Regions from separate parts of the Homo sapiens genome. Here region 2 is linked to region 1. Evidence: promoter capture Hi-C in 16 types of primary human blood cells and fetal thymus (Javierre and others, 2016). All regions are on one chromosome and are shown on one strand. The core of a region is centred on a gene start or on the middle of the fragment in contact, and the rest is flanking DNA. Distances in the headings are between cores, read along the strand shown. Region 1 holds the start of H3C11 (H3 clustered histone 11). Region 2 holds the start of PRSS16 (serine protease 16).

The links. The method cuts DNA at HindIII sites, captures the fragments that hold promoters and counts their contacts. A CHiCAGO score of 5 or more calls a contact.
Region 2: the fragment with the promoter of PRSS16 here is called in contact with the fragment with the promoter of H3C11 in region 1 in 4 of 17 cell types (total CD8 T cells, total B cells, activated CD4 T cells and 1 more); the score reaches 7.7 in total CD8 T cells.

The regions. Positions count from the first base shown.
Region 1 is chr6:27,870,181-27,874,156 of GRCh38, reverse strand. H3C11 (H3 clustered histone 11) reads left to right here and starts at 1,811. Exons shown (of 1, transcript NM_003533.3): 1 at 1,811-2,312. The coding sequence starts at 1,842. The coding sequence ends at 2,252. It overlaps H4C13 (H4 clustered histone 13), which reads left to right and starts at 623. Exons shown (of 1, transcript NM_003546.3): 1 at 623-1,009. The coding sequence starts at 647. The coding sequence ends at 958. RefSeq lists enhancers at 343-392, 473-642, 943-992, 424-1,061, 2,977-3,614 and 1 more. The HindIII fragment of the contact is 2,761 bases long and covers 1,554-3,976 here.
Region 2 is chr6:27,246,284-27,250,681 of GRCh38, reverse strand. It overlaps PRSS16 (serine protease 16), which reads right to left and starts at 2,981. Exons shown (of 12, transcript NM_005865.4): 1 at 2,875-2,981; 2 at 2,634-2,800; 3 at 1,736-1,835; 4 at 1,453-1,582. The coding sequence starts at 2,944. The HindIII fragment of the contact is 3,507 bases long and covers 981-4,398 here.

The DNA of each region.
Region 1 (3,976 bases), core at 562-3,061:
TCCTGAAGTGTTTCTAGGTGGAATGAGGAAAAAAAAATAGAAAGTTCTTGCCCCAAAAATGTGGTTGGCGAGGGAGAGAAAGGAACAGAAAGGACAGCTACAGAAAGAGTAAAATATAAGGAAAAGAATAGAGAACCAAATTTGAGAAAGGTGAGGAATCCCACCTTGGAGCTATCATCAGGCGTCGTCTTTTGCAGTCAGCCACTCCATAGGCTGATCACTTCGAGTTTGTACGGAAGCAGTTTCTACACGCTATTTCACAAATGCCCGAAACGACTGTGATTACCCCTCTAGAGATGGCGCCATTTGATTCCAGCAGCCACAAAGCACTAGAACAATCGATGCTAAGAGGTGACAGGAAAAACAGGCTGCAAAGACCCAGACAATGGAATGCAGCGGTGGTCAGCCTAAAACACTGTAGAAGGGCAAGATGAGCTGAGTAATTTTTAACTGGGCATCATTTTTAGAAACTGGAGTTTAAGTACCCCCTTTTCCATTTTTTCCTGAAGTCGTGGGCAGGGCGCAAGGTCTGTGAATCGGCCGACCGGATGCAGCTGGTGTGGAGAGTTCCCAATCAGGTCCGATTTATTACTATATAAAGTACTGCTGCGAGGCTTGCCGTGTTGCATTTTGTTTAGTACAAGACATGTCTGGGCGCGGCAAAGGCGGGAAGGGTCTGGGCAAAGGAGGCGCTAAGCGCCACCGCAAAGTTCTGCGCGACAACATTCAGGGCATCACCAAGCCCGCCATCCGACGCCTGGCACGGCGTGGAGGCGTTAAGCGCATCTCAGGCCTTATATACGAGGAGACACGCGGAGTTCTTAAAGTGTTTTTGGAGAATGTAATCCGCGATGCAGTTACCTACACGGAGCACGCCAAACGCAAGACAGTCACAGCCATGGACGTGGTTTACGCGCTCAAGCGCCAGGGCCGCACCCTGTATGGCTTTGGCGGCTGAGTGTTTTACTTACTTACACGGTTCCTCAAAGGCCCTTCTCAGGGCCACCCATGAAGTCTGTGAAAGAGCTGTAGACTAAAGATAGTTAATTTCTTAAGAACACTTAAACGTATGGCAGTTTTGGCAAATTAGCGATTCCACATAAGCAGTCGCTGAAGTTTGAGGTTCGGTGCCCCTTTCAGCATTACTTAGTGGTTAAAAGTGCCGGCTTCTCTGATACACGGCCAAATCTATAACGCCTCTCTGGTTTTTGCAAAAGTCATAATGAAACAGCCGGTCTCATTTATCTTGTATCGATTACTTTACCGCTACCAATGCGAGGGCTGTGTAACTATGACACTGTGGTCCGCAACGCCCAAAATGTTTTAATATCGCCCTTTACAGAAAAAGTCGGCCAACTTCTAAAACATTAAGTACGTTTAAATTTGAGAAATACTGGCATACCACAACGCTCGAATTTCATATCCCCTTCAATGCCTCCATTTACAAATTTACTCTAGTTTCACTTTTCCTTTACGTTCTTTAACTTTTTGTCAAATCAGTAATGACACCTCGTAATTAAAATAGTGCAAGGCAAGTTTAGATTTATCAAGCTTATATTTAAACAGGATTTTGATGCATGAAAAATCCTAGACTTTTGGGGGATTTTTTTTTGTTTCCGTTTTTGTTTTTCTTTAGCTAGCAAAACCATTTTACGTTTCTTGACCCAAAACAGAGGCGGAATGTCTCCCTTTCACTAGCAGATTAAACTGGGAGCCAATTCCGTGTGTGAGACGTGGCATGGCACAGTCTACTGTCCAATCAGAACGCGAGGGCAGCTATAAATACCGGGATGATCAGTTTTTTTCTCTCATTTGTGTTGAGTAGGTACGTCTACTTAGCCATGGCACGAACAAAGCAAACAGCTCGCAAGTCCACCGGCGGCAAAGCGCCGCGCAAGCAGCTGGCCACCAAGGCGGCTCGCAAGAGCGCTCCGGCCACCGGTGGCGTCAAGAAGCCCCACCGCTACCGCCCCGGCACCGTGGCCCTGCGCGAGATCCGCCGCTACCAGAAGTCGACCGAGCTGCTAATCCGGAAGCTACCTTTTCAGCGCTTGGTACGGGAGATCGCACAGGACTTTAAGACCGATCTGCGCTTCCAGAGCTCGGCGGTGATGGCGCTGCAGGAGGCTTGCGAGGCCTACCTGGTGGGGCTATTTGAGGATACCAACCTGTGCGCCATTCACGCCAAACGCGTCACTATTATGCCTAAAGACATCCAGCTTGCGCGCCGCATCCGAGGGGAGAGGGCATAAATATTCCTATCAGCCCAAGAAGTCTGTCCAACCCCAAAAGGCTCTTTTCAGAGCCCCTCAATTGTCACCAAAAGGAAGCTGTAGCTTTTGAGACGTGTCTTAGCTCCATGTTAAATACAAGCTGTGGACAAAACGTGGTAGTGGCCCAACACACTATAATGCAGGAGTCAGGTCACAGGCTGTTGGTATGCTAAATCAATTTCACATACAGAACCTGTTCCTACTGATAAGGATTATCACTCAAAAAAGACATGTCATGGGGTCAATTTTACAGATGAAGTTTAGTTTTGAAAAGTATTCCTGTTTTTATCCTTGAGGAATGTGTCTCCTGCGTATCTACCTGCCCCTACTGAAGGGAACAAGTAGCACAATGAGTGTCCACAGGCTCTGGTGAGGCCGAGGCAGGCGGATCACAAGGTCAGGAGATCAAGACCATCCTGGCTAACACGGTGAAACCCCCCTGTCCACTAAAAAAAAGACTGCCGGCCGTGGTGGCACGCGCCTGTAGTCCCAGCTACTCGGGAGGCTGAGGCAGGAGGATCGCTTGAACCTGGCAGGCAGAGGTTGCAGTGAGCCGAGATCGCGCCACTGCCCTCCAGCCTGGGCTACAGAGCGAGACTCCGCCTCAAAAATACAAAAAACAACAGGCTCTAAAAACTACACACATGAGAGTGGAACAATAGACAATAAGGACTCAGAAGGGAGGAAAGAATGAATGATAAGTTACTTAATTGGTACAATGTAAGCTATTTAGCTCTTGTATAGCCCATGTAACTTGACCACCTTGGAGCATATGCACATAACAAAGTTGCCATCGTACCCCATGCAAGTAACAGTTTTGACAAAAAGCTCGACACTTTTGTTCTGTTTCAATGTAATGTTTAGCAAGCCATGTGTTAGGTAGTGGGCCTCTGAGGAGGGATACTTTAACCTACTGCATGCTGTCATCTATGAAATGAACTTCTAGCTCTAAGTGGACCTTAAAAAATATTTTCCTGTCATTTCACCATATGCTTGTCATAGACTGTGGAGTTGGATTTTCATGAGATTTTTTCTTTCTTTTTTTTTTTCAGAGAGAATCAGTCTGGGTATTAAACTTCAAGTGGTATTTTAAAGCTCTTCCTGGTTTCTAACCAAACTTTTCCATTATTTCCAGCTGTTTTAGAGTTTCCTCATGTGCTCTACATATGTGACTATCATGACCTCATTTTGCTCTTAAACTTTTTGAAGCACACATCTTGACCTAGGAGATATCTGGCAGAGATGTGAAGGCAATTTTTCTCCCTAGTGCTCTCAGCCAGCTCAGCCTCATATCTGTGCCTTCCTTTCTCATATTGGATTCACTCTTGCAAAGAGGCATGTATCCCAGCAACTGGTGCAGCGGTGTCCGATCTTTTGTCTTCCCTGGGCCACGTTGGAAGAAGAATTGTCTTGGGCCACACCTAAAATACAGGATCACTAAAGATAGCTGACGAAAGAAAACAAAGGAAGGAAGGAAGGAAGGGAGGAAGGAAGGAAAAAGGAAGGGCGCAGTGGCTCACATCTGTAATCCCAGCACTTTGCATTTTGGGAGGCCGATGCGGGCGAATCACGAGGTCAGGAGTTCCAGACCAGCCTGGCCAACATGGTGAAGCCACGTCTCTACTAAAAATACAAAAAATTAGCTGGGCATAGTGGCAGGCGCCTGTAGTCCCAGCTCCTTGGGAGGCTGAGGTTGCAGTGAG
Region 2 (4,398 bases), core at 1,732-4,231, 620 kb after region 1:
TAGGGTCAAAGGGGGGACTCGGTCGGTCCTCATCGCTGGGAATCCCTGAAGATTTCCCCATTCTGGGGGAAACCCGGATCCAGAGACATGAATGGGTGAATCTGGCCAGAAACCAGGGCCGTTTTCTCATGACGTGTTTCCAAGTGTTCTCCAAGCCACATACACTTCCCAGAACATGTGTGCCTAGGCCAAGGGAGACCCTGTCCTCGTCCACTTTCTAGAAAGCCACCACCCTCTTTCCCTTCTCGTTTTAGGTAGGAGAGGAAAAATTTCCAAGTCAGTTTAGATGAAAACCTGACAAATGTAGGGAAGGGTTGAGGGCACTCAAGGAGGGCTACTAAGAGGAGAAGGAGGGGTCCTAACCTGATGAGTTGCAAGGTATTGGGAGAGAGAACAGACACAAAGAGAAATGGAGAGTGAAGTTTGGATATGTCTAACATCCTCTTTCTCCTCCCAAGGGCTTTCTTTCTTCCCTAACCTTTCTGAATGGCTTGCAGTTGGTACCATCCTGTTGCAGTTAGAAAACCGTTTCGCTTGTAGAAAAGATTAAGATGCAGAGAGACAGAGATGGAGACAAAGAGGCACAGATGTAGATACAGAGACGGAGAAAATGAGACAGGCAAACAGACTGTTACAGACACAGACAGAGATACCAATGAGGAAAGAAAAAGCTAAGTTCTGTAAGAATAAAGCAGATGAAAGAAACAAAAAGCAGGTGAAGTAAAGTTGGAAAAATGGTGGCGGTCGTTAATAGGAGTGAGATGCACTGAAGGAGGCTGGGGTGAGAGGCATAAAAACATCTAGGGGAAGGCCACGCCATGCAGAGGGATGAGTTCAAAGGCTCAAGGCAGGAATGTGCGTGTAAGTCTGGAGGACAGTGAGGACTTCAATGTAGCTGGAGCCCAGTGAAAGTGAGAGAGTATAGGTCAGAGTTAACTAGAGGCCAAAACCCACTGGACTCCATGGCGACTGTAAAAGCTTTGACTTTACTCTGAAGTCAAATACAGTCAAAATTGCTTTACTTCTGAAGCAATACAGAAGATGTCTGAGGGACTTAAGCCAGGGAGGATCATGTCCTGGTTTATGCTCTAACAGAATTACTCTGATTTCCACCTGGAAGTCAAGGGCAGAGCAGGAAAAATGGTGAGAATGCTGTGGCCGTAATCCAGGTAAGGAATGCTGGTGGTCTGCACAGTGATACAGTGGCTTACTTCAGACAGAGACGCAGAAATAGAAAGAACACAGGATAAGAGAAAGACAGATAGGGAGAGTCAGAGACCCAGAAATGGAAAGAGAAAAAACAAGACCCTATGAAACACAGAAGAAAACAGAGGGAACCAGAGACTCAGAGGTTGACTTCAGACAGTGGAGGAGAGAGACACAGATGCAGAGATGCCAAAGCACAGACATTCCTGTCCTTTGACCATAAACACTTTCCCTTCCTCCACTCACGCAAGGCGGCTGGACAAGAAGCGGAGCTGGGCCATTTCCAGGCCTCCAGCAGGTATACTCAGGCCATAAAATCTGTGTTCCAGGCTTATCACCAGGGCGCCCCAGGCTGGGGCCAAGGCTGCGGGATGGCCTGTGAAGAGTGTATGGGTGGGGGGTGGGGAGGTGAGATGCAAGTTGAGTTTAAGCCCTTTCACTCCTCAGGTCTCACAGCATTGCAATATGCAGCTCCCCTTCCTGGTCCCCACCAGCATCCCAACTCCTTTCCCCCAACATTGCCTCTTACCTCTCATCACTGAGCCAGGCCCAAGGCTGCCCTCACCCCCTAGATGCAGGAATATGGGTCCATCCTGGCCAACCCAATGTTGGTCATTCACCCAGTAACGCTGAGAGGTGGGATGGGGAAGAAGAAATGGCACTGTGAGAGTCCTGACTTATTCTCAATTCCTCATTTGTTCCAGTCTCTCTTCCTAATGGATCTTTCCTTATGTACTTAACAGTGTCTGAAATGAGCTTGTTTATTTACTTGCTCACTTTTCCCCTGTTCATCTCCTCATCTAGAATGCAAAATATACAAAAGCAAATTTTTGACCTGGTTTTTCACTCTTATATCCCCAGAACTGAGGGAGTGGCTCTCACATTGAAGGAACTTGCTATTTCTTGAAGTAATAATTGTAAAATAAGAAATAAATGCAGATGGATTTAGGAATAAGATCCAAGTGGGATGATATTTGGAGACTAAATACAGAGGAAGCACTGAAAAATGGCGAATTTGTTCCTTCTTTCGATAGATATCTTTGAGTGCCTGTTGTGAGCTAGGTCTGATTCCAAAGCTGGTTCAAATTTCTGCTACCTACTGAGACCTGGTGGTAGGTTTTGTGTCCAGTCTGGACAGGGACAAGGGGGTAGGGAGGAGCAGTGAATGTGAATGACAGAGAGAAAGAAATGGTGAAGGGCAAGATCTGAGGGACAAAACGAGTGGGACCCCGAGGAGAGGAGAGAGTAAGGCCAAATCTACAAAGGGCAGGAAAAGGGATACTGACAGCAAGCATAACATGAGATTCAAGCAGAGGGATGGGGAGAACTGAGGTGTGGAGAGAGAAAAAAGTGCAGACTGAGGAAGAGATGAGGGAGACTGAGGAGAGGGCAGGATGGTTAGTGGACTCCCCGTCTCCCGGCCTCACCTGTAGGAAGGATCGTCTGTCGGACACGTTGAAGGGGTCCAGCAGTTGCTCCAGCCACCCCACTTTTGGGAGGGCTGCAGCACCTGGCCCCAGGCTCAGGCCCAGGCCCTGGGCAGAGCTCTCCTGAAACTGCTGAATGTGCTCACCCAGGCGCCTAAGAAGGGAGGCTGTGGGACATGGAGGGAAGGAAGTCAGGCTGGCCCCCTTAGGATGCCCTGCTTGACCCTCAGCCTCCTCTTACCTGGAGCCAAGAGTCCCCAGAGGGAAACCAAGAGCAGAGGGCCCAGCCACTGGGCAAGCCAGACGGCCATGGTGTTCGGGACTCTGTTCTCCCCCAGGAGGACCTTTATCTTATCCTCAGCAGCCGGGCCTTAAATCCATCACCTTTCAGCAGAGGCTCAGGTTTCTTTCCTTTCCTGGCAGGTCAAGCGTCTGTAGGAACTGCTAAAGCGGGGCAGGGACGCCAGAGTCTGTACACAGAGGCTGCTGATGCAGCATCGGAACTCCCAGTTTCTTCTCTCTGGGCCTCTCAGTCTGTTCTTCCCTCAGCTCTCAGTAGCCCTCGCTGTCTCAGTCTCCTCCTCTCCGCTCTTCGGTCTACCTTCTCTTTATCTCAGATTCCTCCTTTGCATGCCTTATTGTCCTTCAACCTCTGTCTCTCCCCACCTCAGCACCTCCTCTGGAACCCCAGTTGCCCACTTATTCTCAGTCTTTTCTTTCTGCCCCTCAGCATATCTTCAGTACCCCTCAGTTGTTCCCACACTCAGTCTTTCCGTCTCTTTTTTCTCAGTCCCCCATCTCTTTTTCAGTCTTTCTCTCCATACTCATCTCTTTGTCCCCCAATCTCACCTTGTCTATTTTCCAGCCCCCTCACTTTCTGCTCTGCTTCACTGTCCCGAGCTTCTCTGACCCACAATCTCACACTGTCCATAGACTCCTTACAGTTCTTTGAACATACCAGGCTTGCTTCTGCCTTAGGGTTCTTATTCTTGTTGTTCCCACCCTATGGATTGTGATTTCCCTATATACCCACGTGGTTTGCTCCCTCACTTCAACTGGATCTTTATTCAAAGGTCATTCATTCAGAAAGGTCTTCCATGGTCAGCTTTTTAAAAATTGCCAAACCTATGGCCCTCTTCTATTCCTTTTCAAACTTTATTCCTAATTCTTTTTCATGGGACTTATCACTATGAGAAATATTGTACATTTAAAAAGTTATTCCCATAAATTTAAAAAATATATCCAGAATCTGATGACTTCTCACTACCTTCAGTGCTACCACTGCTGAGCCACCATCATCTCTGACTTGGGATATCATGGAAGGCTTTTAGCTGGTCACCCTGTTTCTGCCTCATGATTTATTCTACACTCAGCAGACAGAGAGACAGAATTAAATATTAGCCCAATCATTCACAATCATTCACTCCCTGGTTTAGAACACTTCCCTGATGCCCCATCTTACTCAAAGTAAATCTAAAGTTTTGAAAACAGTTTTTAAAACTCTGTATGACCTGGCCCCCTGTTGTATATACTGTCATGATTTCATCTCCTACCCCTCCTGGGTTCACTGCTCCAACTGCATTGGACTATTTCATATTTCACAAGACTCACTCCTTCCTTAGAATTTTTGCTCTCCTTAGGATGCTTTTCCTCCAAATATCTGCAAGTCTTATTTTATCACTTCCTATAGTTCCCCATTCATATATTTTATCTTACCAAATGGGTTTTACCTGACCACCCTTATAAATGGCACAACACCTGAGAC